3 separate regions of the Homo sapiens genome follow, and regions 2 and 3 are each linked to region 1. The links are contacts of gene promoters, found by promoter capture Hi-C in human tissues and cell types (Jung and others, 2019). All regions are on one chromosome and are shown on one strand. The core of a region is centred on a gene start or on the middle of the fragment in contact, and the rest is flanking DNA. Distances in the headings are between cores, read along the strand shown. Region 1 holds the start of PBK (PDZ binding kinase). Region 2 overlaps NUGGC (nuclear GTPase, germinal center associated). Region 3 overlaps SCARA5 (scavenger receptor class A member 5).

Region 1 (4,751 bases), core at 596-3,095:
ATCTCCATACTTTCACTATTTTCCAACTCATCCTTGAATCCATTCTCAAGACGGTGTCAAGAGTCTGGACACCTGCGGGGGTCCAGGACCCACCGGCATTTGAGGACCTCCCCTGGCCCACTGATATCATGGGGACTGTTATTCTTCCCTCAGACGTAGATGCCTTTTTCTGTAAAGACTTAAGCCTGTATGTATGAGACAGAAGTTTGGCAGGACTGATTTCACAAGATAGAGGTCACAAAGACCCCCACTGATAAAACAGATGCAGTAAAGAGGGTGGCCCAAACCCACCAAAACCAAGAGGGCACCCCATAGGGGGCCACTCAGCGTTCCCTTTCCTGGCACACCAGGGTTGGAAAAACCACTCCAGGCAAAGAACCCGGATCAAGATTGAGACTGAAATCCACTAGTGGATGACCTCTGGTCATCCTCACTGCTCATTACAGGCTAATTATAATGATTTAGCTGCCGAAAGACACTCCCCCTGAGTGCCATGACGGTTTACAAATGCTATGGCAACCCGGGGAACTTATTACCCTACATGGTCTAAAAGGAGGAGGAACCCTCAGTTCCAGAAAATCCCCAGGGCCTTCTTGTAAAACTCATGAATAATCCATCCTCTATCTAGCATATGATCAAGAAATAACGGTAAAAATAGCCCATCTGCAGCCCTCCAGGCTGCTCTGCCTGTGGAGTAGCCACTCTTATTCCTTTACTTTCTTAATAAACTTGCTCTCATTTTACTCTATGGGGCTGCTCTCGAATTCCTTCCTGCTCCAAGCCAGGTGGCCTCTGTGGCTGTACCCTAGTTTTGGGGTTTTCCCTGCAACATATAGTTTGGAGCTGTTAAGCAATATCTATTGGGTGGCATTCTAGGACTTGAATACGGCTTGATCAAAGGCGAAGGGGTTTGATTTCTTTGCCTTGCAATATCTAATAAAAATCTCTTGGGGCGGAGAGGTAAAAAAAAACTGGTCGGCGCACACTGGATTGCAATTGCACACCAGTAGCTTTCTTAGCATGGCTTGAGTAAATTTTTGCATCATCCAGAACTGTGGTCACATAGGGGAAGGCAAACTCCAACATGTGATTTATACGTCTTGGCTCATATTCTTTGATCCCCACGACCCTCAGGACCTGCGCCATCCTCGGGGGATGCCTCAGGGCACATCTTCCTGGGGAGAAGCCCTGATCAGAGTTGCGGGGCTTTGTCACCTACATTAATGGATTCCAGTCCCGATCTTGATGCAAGTTCTTTGCTTACTGTGGTTTTTCTAACCCTTGGTGTACCTCGAAACAGAAATGAGCGGCCCCACAAGCGGTACCCCCTGCCCTGAGCTCTGGGCCCCTGGTCTGCCCCACGGCCCATCCCCTCCTGGGGAGCAGATGTTCCTAAATAATCGTTGAATAAATTAAAGAATGTTGAATTGAATGTGGCAATTACATGAGTTAGCAACATTTCTAAATATCTTTTTTTTCCCTCGGCTAAAGATGATTGTTCCTTAAGCTACGCATTTGTCTTTACAGTGTTTCAAGGCCTCATAAACCTATAATAAAATTGACGTCATAATCACGACACATTCAACACAGATGTGAGCGTTTGGAGAGAGCTTCAGCCTTCAGCACAGGCAACTGTGTTCTATTCACCGGGCTGTGCTCCTCGGAAGGGCTGGTGGTTCCTGTAAAAGTTTGTGCTCCCCGCGCCTTTCCTTCCTTCCCTCGTCTTTGGCGCCTGCGGGCACCGGGAGTCCTGGGAGAGGGAGGAGGAACGGCGAATCGGCGGGGCGTGTCCTTCACGCCGCCCCGTAGCTCGGGGCCGAAGCTGGCGCAGCGCGCGACTTTTTGAAAGCCAGGAGGGTTCGAATTGCAACGGCAGCTGCCGGGCGTATGTGTTGGTGCTAGAGGCAGCTGCAGGGTCTCGCTGGGGGCCGCTCGGGACCAATTTTGAAGAGGTACTTGGCCACGACTTATTTTCACCTCCGACCTTTCCTTCCAGGCGGTGAGACTCTGGTAAGAGGAGCTTTTTTTTTGCGAGCCCTGGCGGGGGCCGAGCCCGGAGCCGAGGCCTCTGCGGGGGCTTTCGTGACAGGGGAGGATCTGGTTACAGCCAAAGAAGGATTTTGGCAGCCAGCCCCTTGTGAGCCCCTGGATTGGGGTAAACAGTCTGACCTCCACCCCCGAACCCTGCTGAGCGTGTGAGATGCAGAGGACCTGAGAGTCATGCGGCCCACACTTTCTCTTTGCTTCCCCTTGGAGTTTCTACATCTACTTTGTTTCTCTTTTCTCCTTTACTTTTTCTCTCATTCTTTTAATTTTCCGTTTTCTGCTGCCCGTCCGCGTCGTAGCTTTGTCAGTAGTGTCCAGGTATTTGTTGAGTCCCAGGGTCCCAGGCTTAGGGCCCAAAGGTCACTGACGTTTGACCCGGTAAATCTGTAGATTAGCTTGCTTGAGCGCTGCTCACTTTAATGCTGCCTCTTAAACAGTACTTGATTGTTAAAAATATCTTACGTATTCCACAGAGTATGAAATTCTGCTCACGGTCATCCTACTGCCATTTCTAATTTATCTTCATCTAAATATTCACTGTTTTTTTTGCTGTCATCTTCATGAGAACCTTGTGATTTAGAATTAGTATGGTTATTTAACAATTAATGTTAAGAATGCATATACAATACATAACATAATCTGAAGCAGAGTCTGGGCTACTGGCCAAAAGCTATCTGTCAGCAGTTAATGCCTAAACCTGAGTGTGCAGTCTGGAAAAAAGTGGCCCTCAGACAACTGTGAAATGGATAGGACATGGTACATTGAGGTGCAAATAGCTTAGAGTAGAAGGTGGGACTCAGTCGTAAGAGAACATAATGAAATGTTACGACTTCTGTTTAAACCTAGTTGTTTTTAGAGATAGGTTTTCTTTTTTAAAACGTGCTGCTTCTGAATATCAAATCCTCCGTAGAGTGAGCGGGAAAAGGCAGTGAGACTCATAAGGCTCATCATAAGATTTCCAGGACACTCTACGCGCCAGGGTTTTCTGCATCCTACTTTGTTGGCACCTCCTTGGTTGCTTTGTTTTTCATTTCTCATGCTTGGATGCCCTAGGGCTCACCCCTCTTCTCTCTACAGTTACTCCCTAGATGATCTTACCTAGTCTCTTGGCTTTAATAACGTCTGCGTGCTGCCATCCCACAAACTTAAATCTTCAGCTTGCATTCTAGATCCGTATCCACCCACCTATTTGACTCCTCCACAAAACTCTCCAACAGCTTTCTGTTTCTCAGTACAAGCTGAAATCTTGACTGTGACTACAGTTGAGTAGAAGTCACAGTCCTGTGGCTACAATGCTCTACTTGACTTGCCAGTCCCTACCCTCAGCCTCCCTGACTTTGTCTCATTCTCCCCCTTGCTAGCTCGCCTCTTCGTGAAGATTTCTGCCTCAGGTCTTTGTATTTCTTGTCCTCTCTCTGGAAGACTTTCACTAGATACTTGCTTGGGCCTGCTCCCTCACTTCCTTCAAATGAGTTTCTCAAGGAGACCTTTCTTGACCACTTTAAACTCAAATATTAAGCCCCTTCCCAAGGCCTTCTGCTCCCTTCACTGATATATATTTCCCCTGAAATAGTATATGTTTATCTTCATACTTGTTTGGGTCTTGTTTGCTGCTCTATTTCCAGAGTGTAGAACAGTGCACTGTTAGAGCACATGGTATGTGCTCGAACAGTGCACTGTTAGAGCACATTGTATGTGCTCAGTGTGTGCATATTGACTGAGTGAATGAAGAGTAGCTTCACATAGGTAGATAGAAATCTTAGAAGAAGCTGGATGTGGTGGCTCACGCCTGTAATCCCAGCACTCTGGGAGGCCAAGGCGGGTGGATCACCTAAGGTCACGTTTGAGGCCAGCCTGACCAATATGGTGAAACCCCATCTCTACTAAATACAAAAAATTAGCCGGGCATGGTGGCACATGCCTATAATCCCAGCTACTTGGGAGGCTGAGGCAGGAGAATTGCTTGAACCTGGGAGGCAGAGGTTGCAGTGAGCCGAGATTGCACCATTGCACCCCAGCCTGGGCAACAAGAGCAAAACTCTGTCTCAAAAAAAAAAAAAAATCTTAGAAGATCTCTGAGGTGCCACATCACAGCATCCCATGGGGAAAGATAACACAGATGGAAGAAGGGGAGTCAGAATGACATGGGGAAATTATTTCCGAAGTAGAAATACCTCCTGCAACCCACTCTGCTAAATAGTTTATCCTTTCCCAAAGTTCTGAAACTGGTTTCAGAAATTCTGCTGTTCCTACCGTCAAGTTAAATGGGTCACTTCATAAAATTATTATACTCTTGACAAACACATGTAAAGGGGCTCTTCGGTGTTCTCAGGACAGGTAAATCTGAAGACAATAGTGATTGTAGCTACATTTTAAACAAGATGAACAAGCTTGTCATTAATAGTTAAAGCTGGGCCTTTGAGATGATTTTCTTCCCCTTAGTACAGTTTTTAAAGATGCTATTATTAAGGGCTCTATAAAAAATTTAAGCAAATCTGTCTGCCTCCCAACTTTTTATAGACAAATGAGCTTATAGACATGTAGGAACAGTTTTGCTTTATAATAAATAAATCTAATAGGAAACCTAATTTTTTAAAAAGAAATATAATTTTTAAAATAAAAAAATTCTTAAATATGTTACGAAGAAGTAAACACATTGAGTTGCTTTGTTTATATATGTGGTATGTACATTTTCTTTTCTTCCG
Region 2 (4,751 bases), core at 572-3,071, 200 kb before region 1:
TTGTCCTCATTTGGTTGGTTTTCACTTATTTGCACACTTGCCTTCACCCGTCAGATGTGCACAGTCAAGATGTTTGTCTTCTTGTTATGCCGGAACAGGGAAGGGGTAGAGGAAGTACATGAATAGGGCTTTGTGAGTGGTCGAGGAGCTGGTCCTCACGATGGGGAAGGTGGGCCAATGATGACCCTGTGGGGTGGCAAGGGGAGGCAGACACTCGAGACCTGACTTCCATGTGGGAGTAAGCAGTGCCACCTGGAGCCTTTGGTTGTGTATAAATGCTTGTAAAAAGTCTTTAGTGGTGTGGGGTCTTTCTTCTGCATAAAAGGGGCATATAGAGCAAAATTCAATCTTTTTTAAATCTATTTCTTATGACTTGTTTTGGTCTAGTTGTACAAGACAAAAACAAAACAAAACTCTTGGAATCTGAGATTTTCTTATTTGACTTTGTCCGCTGAAATCGTTGGGGAAGGGTTTGACCTTCCAATTTCCCAAAACAGTTCTTCAGGGTGAAATTTGTCTCTTTGCCCAGCACAAGATTGCTTTTGGAAGTGCTGATGGAAAATGAATCCGATGTGGGCTGTGTGAGGTTGGTGTATTTTACAAACATTAGGACAAGGCATTTTGCCATCAAGGCCAGAAGTGCCCACCCCACGTGTTTTCTTTGCTAATATGGAAGTGCAGAGCTCAGAGGGGCTCAGATTCACCCTTGCAGCCAGACTCCAAGCAGTGGAAAACATAGAGGAGAAGGGGGCTGACTGGCAATTCTGCAATAGCTATGTTAGGGAGTTGCTGGCAACTTTGCTCAAAATTCCTTGGCCTTAGGTATTGGTCTTACTCTTAGCTCTTTGATAGAAAGTTGGAAGGCAAGAATTTGTCAGTTCCTTTGAATTCTGAAAAATCAAATCTAAATATGTGTGTGATTGATTTTTTTTCAAAGATGATCACTGAAACCAAAAATTTGGAGTTTGAGTAGTGATTTTAAATGAGCAATCATTATTTTTAAGAATCCATAGGAAGTTGAGGACCACATCTCAATGTCAAATGAAGTCTGCGTTTATTCATACTAAGTGCCAGCTTCTTTGTTTCTTATTGTTCTTTTATTCTCCGCTCTTCCCTTTCTTATCATTCTTTTGTTTATCCAACAAGGATTTATCGAGAGTGAGGCATTGTGAGAATCATGCCCATAGCTTTTCTTTCCATGACTTCTTTCTTCTTTCATTTTCATCACTGGTGACACCACAAATTCAAAAGAATCTAAAGGATGTCCTGGGAAAAATGCTTTGTAGAATTCTTAATGGTGAAAATGAGGGAAATTCCCGGGGTGCACCGAATGCTAAACAGTCTCCATAAACTCTAAAACGTATTTACTCCAAGATTCACAGCATTTTAGAGTGTGAGGTTGTTTTCAAGATCATTCAACCCAATTCACTTAAAGATGATACCGTTGAGAATCAGAGAAGTTAAATCACCTGTATCAGGTCACACATCGATTCGAGAGCTATTTCTGTCTATTTGAAATAGAATTTAAAAGCCCAAATTATCTCGCAGTTTCTCTGGGCCACTCGTTCAATCCACAAATGTCTATGGGTTTTGCTCTCTGTGCTGTGCCCTGGAATAAAAGAGCATGACTAAGAGCCTGCTCCTTTGGCAAGTTCCTATCCAGGGAAGAAGACACAGGGAACGAGAGAGATGTCATACGGCAGGAGGCAGGAGACGTGCTGTGGTGCAGGACTGTGGGAAGTGCAGTGGGAGCACAGGACAGAGAGCCCCACCTCTACCTGGGGACTCAGGGAAGGTGCCTCATGGGAAGGACCTTTGAGCTTTGTCTCCGAAGTAACAAAGATGAAATCAGCAAGGCCCAGAGGGCACAAGATTGACAGCATGTTTGGGGAATAGCAGCAAGTCCAGGGGTAGCTACTTGGCAGGATGTGTCAGGCAAACAGAGATGGTGGTGCTAGAGAGGTGGAGTGAGTTCTGGCTATGAGGTGCCTTAAAGGCCAAGCTGGGGAGTGTGGCTCTGACTGCTGCAGGCACTGTGGGGCCCACCAAGGTTCCCATGTGGGGAACAACACTATGAGTTCCCAGTCTGGAACTGTATTAGTCCATTTTCATGCTGCTGATAAAGACATACCCGAGACTGGGTAATTTATAGAGAAAATGAGGTTTAATGGACTCACAGTTCCATGTGCCTGGGGAGGCCTCACAATCATTGTGGGCAAAAGGCATGTCTTACATGGTGGCATGTTTTATAAGGTTTTATAAGGTTTCTCCTTATAAAACCATCAGATCTCATGAGACTCATTCACTACCATGAGAACAGTATGGGGAAAGCCAATCCCATGATTCAATTATCTCCCACCAGGTCCCCCCCACAACACGTGGAATTATGGGAGCTACAATTCAAAATGATATTTGGGTGGGTACACAGCAAACCATATCAGGCACCTAGGGGTCAAGGCTTTCTCTGGTGGTCACTTCCTTGTATTATTTGAATATATGTTTTCTCCCTGATTAGACTGTATTCTTTGAAGAAGGAAGCATGGATTTATTTTTGTGGTCCTGTAGCTTTGCTATGCAAAGTGTGGTCCATAGCTCGGAAGACCAGCATTACTTGAGGACTGGCTAGAAATGCAGAATCCCAGGACCTTGGATTTCAGATTTTAAGATCTCCTGTTGATTTGTATGCATGTTAAAATTTAAGAAGCATTATCCTTAAAAACTCCTTCGTGCAGAGTCCAAGCCCGTGAAATGTTTGTTGAATCAGATGTCATTGGAAAAATCTGTTTTAATAACAATTGGATTTCTATGTGGATAGCTACTTCCCCAAATAACCTGATGGATTACACAGCTGAAATAAGTTGCTGAATAAGCAGAGACTGTGATTTTTAAGAAATGAAATAAGTTGCACCAGGCAGGTATTTGTTCTATTCTCTAACCCCACAAAGCCTAAAGGGGTCTGTGCACTGAGTGAGGTCTTATGGGGACAATAAAGAGAAGTCAGCTCTGAGTGATAAGCTGAATCTTGAGCTGGTGACAAGCTTAAAGAAAGCAAAGCTTCAGGAGAAGGTGCCCTTAGGGAGGGGGTGGCCTGATTCTTTTATGGTCCTTGTCCCTAGAATGAACACTTGCACATGAGTGTCCTGCGGAGATTTGCGGAAGAGAAGGTTGAGCTGCTGGAGAAGGCCATCGCACAGTGCTTCGCCTGCATGGAGCAGCCTCTGCAAGAAGGGGTCAGGACCGCCAGGACTTCTTACCGCTGCATCCTCAGAGCATGCTTGGTGGTGAGTGACCCTTCCAGGGAAAACTCAGATATTCCAGGAGGCCTGCCCGATCCCCAAGCTTCTTTTGCATCATCCCATTCCCTTCAAAAGAGGTAAAGAGTTAGCGGGCCGGGCATGGCGGCTCATGCCTGTAATCCCAGCACTTTGGGAGGCCGAGGTGGGCGGATCACAAGGTCAGGAGATCAAGACCATCCTGGCCAACATGGTGAAACCCCGTCTCTACTAAAAATACAAAAATTAGCCAGGTGTGGTGGCGTGTGCCTGTCATCCCAGCTGCTCAGGAGGCTGAGGCAGGAGAATTGCTTGAACCAGGGAGGCGGAGATTGCAGTGAGCCGAGACTGCACTACTGCACTCCAGCCTGGCGAGAGAGTGAGACTCCATCTCAAAAAAAAAAACAAGAACAAAAAACAAAAAACAAAAAAAAAGAGCCAGAGGAGGTTAGGAGAGAGTGAAAATTGCACATAACAGTTGTTCATCTGTGTCTTGAAAGGACCAAGGAAGGTACACAGTTCAGCAAAGACAGAGTGGGAATCTGGGATCTGAGGGTCTTGGTTGGAGTACCAGCTCCACCAAACATCCACCTTGTAGCCCCGGGCAAAGCCCTAGACCCATTTTTTAAAAATTTATTGGTTTTCTACTATAAAATGAGGATGCTCAATGCTTGCCCTACCTATCTGGTAGTGTTGATATCAGTATCAATGAGCTTACACAATGAGGAAACATCTTGTAACCTCTCAATTGGCATACAAGTTGTGGTTTTATTTCTTAATTAGTTGTATAGAGTTTCTGAAGGATGAAAATGTAAGTGTAAGGCAGTATTTATCTAAGACTAAGGGGTGAAAAAAGAGGCCTATTGTATTAGTCTGCTTGGGCTGCCATAACAAAATCCTATAGACTGGGTGGCCTGAACCACAGACATCGATTTTCCCATAGTTCTGAAGGCTGAAAGTCCAAGATCAAGGTGTCAGCAGGGTGAGTTCTGAGGCCTCTCTCCTCTTCTGGAGAAGGTAGATGGCCACATTTTTGCTGCATCCTCACGTGGCCTCTTCACTGAGCACGCACACTCCTGGGATCTCTTTCTCTTCCCAGAAGGACACCACACCTGTCAGATCAGGGCCCCACCCTTATGACCCCATTTAACCTTAATTACCTCCTTACCAGCTGTGTCTCCAAACACAGTCACCCTGGTGGTTAGGGCTTCGCATGTGAACCTCAAGGGTCACACTTTAGTCCATAGCACCCATTAAGGGGAAGATGTGATGGACAACACTGTATGACTTGGTGTCCCCCCGTGCTGGGAGAAGTGCATGGATGGTCTGTGGTTGTAGTTTTTAGTGGGCCTTGGAAAGTTGGAATGTGAGCAGTGGAAAATGTGTGAAAAGGTGAGTGTGATGGGGTGGTTGGCTTCCTGGAGGCTTTTCTATGTGCACCGATGATACCGGCTTTCTAGCACCTGGCCTCTTCTGGGT
Region 3 (4,751 bases), core at 816-3,315, 130 kb before region 1:
AGAGTTTTCTCTGGTAAGTTGCAACCAGACAGCTAGTGGCTCTCACCAGAAGGAAAAAAATAAAAGAAATGCTACCAGGAGCCTACATATTTAGGAGCAAAACCCTTTGTAGAGCCTAGTGTATGGTAAAGGATGGAAAATCCCAGAAAAGGTTTAGGGTGAGTTAGAAAGATGTGCTCTATTTTGTCTTAGCGGAAAATCAGCTCAACTCTTCAAAACTTGCTAATGTAAGGATGAGTGAGAATAGTCATTGACAACTTGCTCGACACTGCACCCAATGTCTTATGGAAATATTATGTAATAGCTCTGTTTAGCTGGTTTAACAGCAGTATTTGTAATAAAATGAAGTCAATGAGTGAGAAAATGTTCCTTATATAACAATACCTCTGGGGGACCAGGGCAGTGTGGATCGTAAGGTACCAATAGTCACCACCATTTTCCTTGTGGTCATAAAACCTCCTGAGGCCAAGGAGGTAGTAATGATACCTGGGAGGCGATATGTAACCTTTGAGGTATCCTTGCAAATGGGAACCTATGAAGGAATTGCAAACATGGTACTATCCTTCAGGATGTTTTCTAAATATCAATTATTTTAGCCTCTCTTGACAACCTTTTTCTGCCCACTCCAGTTAGTGACACTCCTCTCCTCTCCTTTCCTTTTTCCTTTCCTTTCCTTTGACAGTCTTACTGTGACACCCAGGCTGGAGTGCAGTGGCGTGATCTCAGCTCACTGCAACCTCTGCTTCCTGGGTTCAAGTGATTGTCCTGCCTCAGCCTCCCAAGTAGCTGGGATTACAAGCACGCGACACCACGCCCAGCTAATTTTTGTATTTTTAGTAGAGACAGGGTTTCACCATATTGGCCAGGCTGGTGTCGAATTCCTGACCTCAAGTGATCCACCCACCTTGGCCTCCCACAGTGCTGGGATTACAGGTGTGAGCCACCGTGCCTGGCCTTAGTGACACTCTTGAAGTGGGGACAGTCCTTCTGGAGAGGGGTCTTACCCACAGGGGGTAAGGAACAAGCATTAAAGGGATAAGCATTTTTTAAAAAAATGCCGTCCCCCCGCCGCCCCCACCCAGTGATTCCTACATGCCCTGCTAACATCAGGGAGAGGATCCCTTCTTTCCACTTCCAGTCAACAGAGCAGCTGGAGATCAGTAAGCCTCTTCATGGGCCATCTGAGAAGGCCACCTTGAAGGACCAGTTCAGCTAAAAGATCAACCTGGGTCCTGGGGCCGGATTTGCTGCTAACTGACATTTGACATTCTTTATCTGTACAACAAAGGGGTTGAATTACATGGCCCAAAAGGCCACTACAGCAAGGATATTTCCCTGTTCCATTTTGAGCAGAAGCTGAGGAGTGTCACAGGATGAGGTTACCATGTTTTCTAGCAAATCTAAATGCAAGGTTGCAAGCTGGTCAGAACTGGCTTACAGATGTGTTTTGTTTACACTCCCCAGTGTTTTGTGTTTGATGAATTAGTTGCCAACCCTTAAAAATAGATGTAGAAAATTCTGGATCTGGCCACACCCACCACTCATCCCTGCATAGTAGCCTCTGCCAGAGCAGGCACGTGCCGTTGGCCTCCCCACAGTCCCACTGGGCCCATTTCTCTCATTCCCATACCTTCCCAGCCACTGTAGAAGTTTGAGTTTGCAACTCCTGTTTTAATTTCTCTTTATGTTCCCTGGATCCCATGGGACAATGACACTTTTTAAAGCCACATATCCAAGACTATTTCAAGGTCTTTCTGCTGCTTGGACTAGCTCAAGAAGAGTTGGTTTTTGTGAGCATGTGAGCTGTGGACATGTGATCTGGCTTGATCATGAACACAGAGAGTGGGAGGAGAGCTAGAGGCTGAATGTGATGGTCCTGGAAAGCTCCCCATCAAGTGGCTGCATTCTAGACATGCAAAAGGGATGTGAGAAGTTCAACATGAACATCTGCATGCATCAGGGAGAGATGAGACCAAAAAAGAAAAGAGCTTATGGGGTTTTTAAGTGTCTTCTTTCCTTCCTCCTCTTACCCTTATTGTCCAGGTCCATGTCACAAACGGCGGGCAAGCATCTGCTGTACCCAGCTGGGGTCCCTGTCGGCCCTGAAGCATGCTGTCCTGGGGCTCTACCTGCTGGTCTTCCTGATTCTTGTGGGCATCTTCATCTTAGCAGGTAAGAGCAGGCCATTTTTGTCCTGGTCTTTTGGGATGAGGAAGGAAGACCTGGAGCTTCCACTCTTCATTCCCACTGTCATGAGCCCAAACACTGCCCTTGTCACCATGGAAACCATAGAGGAAGAAGGAAGAAGCTCTTCAGTAGTATTGCTTGTTTTGCGTGGGAGTAGCTGGCAGGGGCTATGTGAGCTTGTGGAATCAAAGAGACCAGCAGTAGAGACCTAGCTGCTTGGAGTGGCTTCTGACTTTTCCTGCATCATTGTGGGGCATTGTGCATTACACTGGGCCTCCCTGGGCCTCTGGGGTATGGTTTGCTCTGAGAAGGCTGGGCGTTGTCTAAGCTTCTGGTCCTGGGGTGCCATGAAAATAGTTGTGAGGCACTTTGCTTCCTGGTAAACCTGCTGCCCTTTGCAGTTACTGTAGGTAGAATGGGTTTGCCCCAATTCAGCCAGGCTCTCCTTACCAATTTCTATCTTTTGAGATGGGCAGGCGATGGGCTAGGGCTAGCATGTTCTCCAGCCATGGAGAAGGAGAGCTCATGGACTCAAGAAGGGATGGAACAGGAGCCTGTTGGCCCCAAGCTGTGAGCAGCCCAGCTCATCATCTATAGGTAGTCCCTATGAAGACAGATGGTGAAGCAGATGGCTGTAGTGGTCTTCTCCTGACTCCCTTTGAAAGGAAGGGCTGCTCAGTTCCCACCTTTCTCAGTGGAGGTAGGTAGGACTGGACGCAAGTAAGGCTGAGAGATCAGTTTATTTCCACCCAACATGTCTCACATGAGTACCTGCCTTGCAGCAGGCTCCATGCTAAGATTGGGGGCACAGCTAAATAGGACCCAGGGGCTTCTCTCAAGGAGCTCCCAGCCTAGGAACTGAGGGGGTCATGCAGATAGAGCCCTGCCTCAAGGCAGAATGCAGCGGGCACTGTGATGGGGTGTAGCCCAATGCGATGGTGACAGAGCAGGCACATAGAGGGAGGTGCGGCTGCTGCATGAAGCAGGTGGAGTTGGTGGGAGCGAGGCTGCTGGCCAGGCCGAGCTGACTTGGAGCACTGAGGGAGGGGCCCTCGGGTGAAGCCCAGGGCAGGAATCTGGAGGTCCAGCCCTTACAGATAGATGACCTTTTGCTGGAAATTTTGAGGCAAATGGCCAGGACCTCCCCGGTCTTGATTCACTTTCCGTCAAGCGGGACTAGTCAGTTGGGTGATGTAATGGGGTGTTCAATGCTGCCTGAGCCTTCAGGTTTCCACACTCAGGGCAAAGACATTGGGGTGGAGTCTGTCCCATCAATGAGCAACCTGAGGGGCAGCCAACAGCAACAACGAGAGAACCTCATTATTCATCCCTGGGACCAGAGGACAGGGGCCAGCAGGGTCCCTCGCAGGCCGAGTGGGCCAGAGGAGGATTTGAACATGTTCTCGGGCTGCTTGGTGAGAGCTTGGGATCTGAGTTTTGTGGGTTTGGCTGCGAGGACCATAACAAATTTCTGGAATGTTCAGAAAGCATTCCAGCCCAACAGGAAACCAGAACAGGGACTTTTAGGTGACAGATACAGAAAAGCTCTGCAGAACAGGAACTTTTAGGTGACAGATGGGGGTCTGGAGGAGAGGGACCAGGCTGGTGGGGGGTTTGGGGCAGGCCTCTGGAGGTCCTGGAAGGGCATCGTCTCTTGGGGAAGAGAAGACTTGCAGTGGAGTGACGGTTCTCTTCTGGTGTCTGGATGGCTGCCATGTGGAAAGGGTAGACATACTCTATGTGACCCCAGAAGGCAGAGCTAGGACCAACAGGTGGATGTTATTAGGAGACAGATTTCCATTCAAAATAAAGGACAGTTTGCTAACAAGTAGTGCCGTCCAGTATGATGAAAAAAAGGCTTTCTCCTGGCTTGGAGATTGAATGAGGTTTATAATAATGTCCTGGAAGCTTCAGAAAGGAGGGTGGAACATGGTTTCCCAATCTAATAGAAATGTTGCCATACCTCCTTAATTGTTCCAGCATTTTTCTGATCATTATAATTATCTTAGAACCTGAAGTTTCTGGGTACCACATTGCCTGTGTTGAACAAAAATTTGGGGTGGATTGGGACGGAGCTGGTGCAACAATGTCGTACCTGATCTCTTGGCCCTGGGTGTGTGGCCGCTCTTACCTCCCCAGATTCTTGTCTGGAGAATCATGCTGGCCTCTGGGGGAGGTTTGGTGAGGGCAGCATAGGAAAGGGACTTGGCAAGATGGTGGACAAGTCTGAGGTTCTTTAAGGAGGCTCTGTCTGATCTTAGAGAGGTTTCTTAAGATTGCCTGATTGAAGACCTCAGCGATGCTCCTTCTCAGAGATACCAAGATCAGGGGTCAGGGGAGATCCACAGTCCAGTGTGAAGAAGAGCTTGCCTGGCCTTCTGTTGGGTGTCCTGCCATGGGAGAGGGCTTCCCCTTCTTGGGTAGAACTCACTGCCTGTGCCCAGAGAGGTCACCTTGCACAGGAGATCCATTTAAACCATTCTTAAAACCTCCTTGTCAATGCAAATCTCATAGCTCCTACAACTGGATGACAAAATTGTCCACTGCAACCCAGTGCCATATCT

What was found. Contacts are between HindIII fragments. The study calls those that stand out against the background at their distance.
Region 2: a contact is called between a fragment that was not itself captured here and the fragment with the promoter of PBK in region 1, in 2 of the 25 tissues and cell types used here (H1 embryonic stem cells and thymus).
Region 3: a fragment that was not itself captured here is called in contact with the fragment with the promoter of PBK in region 1 in 2 of the 25 tissues and cell types used here (dorsolateral prefrontal cortex and mesenchymal stem cells).

Annotation. Positions count from the first base shown.
Region 1 is chr8:27,834,911-27,839,661 of GRCh38, reverse strand. It overlaps PBK (PDZ binding kinase), which reads left to right and starts at 1,845. Exons shown (of 8, transcript NM_018492.4): 1 at 1,845-2,010. It also overlaps the pseudogene LOC100130612. RefSeq lists enhancers at 1,556-1,605, 1,676-1,735. The HindIII fragment of the contact is 7,721 bases long and covers 1-4,751 here.
Region 2 is chr8:28,039,581-28,044,331 of GRCh38, reverse strand. It overlaps NUGGC (nuclear GTPase, germinal center associated), which reads left to right. Exons shown (of 19, transcript NM_001010906.2): 13 at 3,117-3,281. Among named protein-coding and RNA genes, the nearest start is that of NUGGC, 42 kb to the left of the region's middle. The HindIII fragment of the contact is 4,477 bases long and covers 1-4,059 here.
Region 3 is chr8:27,963,835-27,968,585 of GRCh38, reverse strand. It overlaps SCARA5 (scavenger receptor class A member 5), which reads left to right. Exons shown (of 9, transcript NM_173833.6): 3 at 2,044-2,172. Among named protein-coding and RNA genes, the nearest start is that of SCARA5, 26 kb to the left of the region's middle. The HindIII fragment of the contact is 8,201 bases long and covers 1-4,751 here.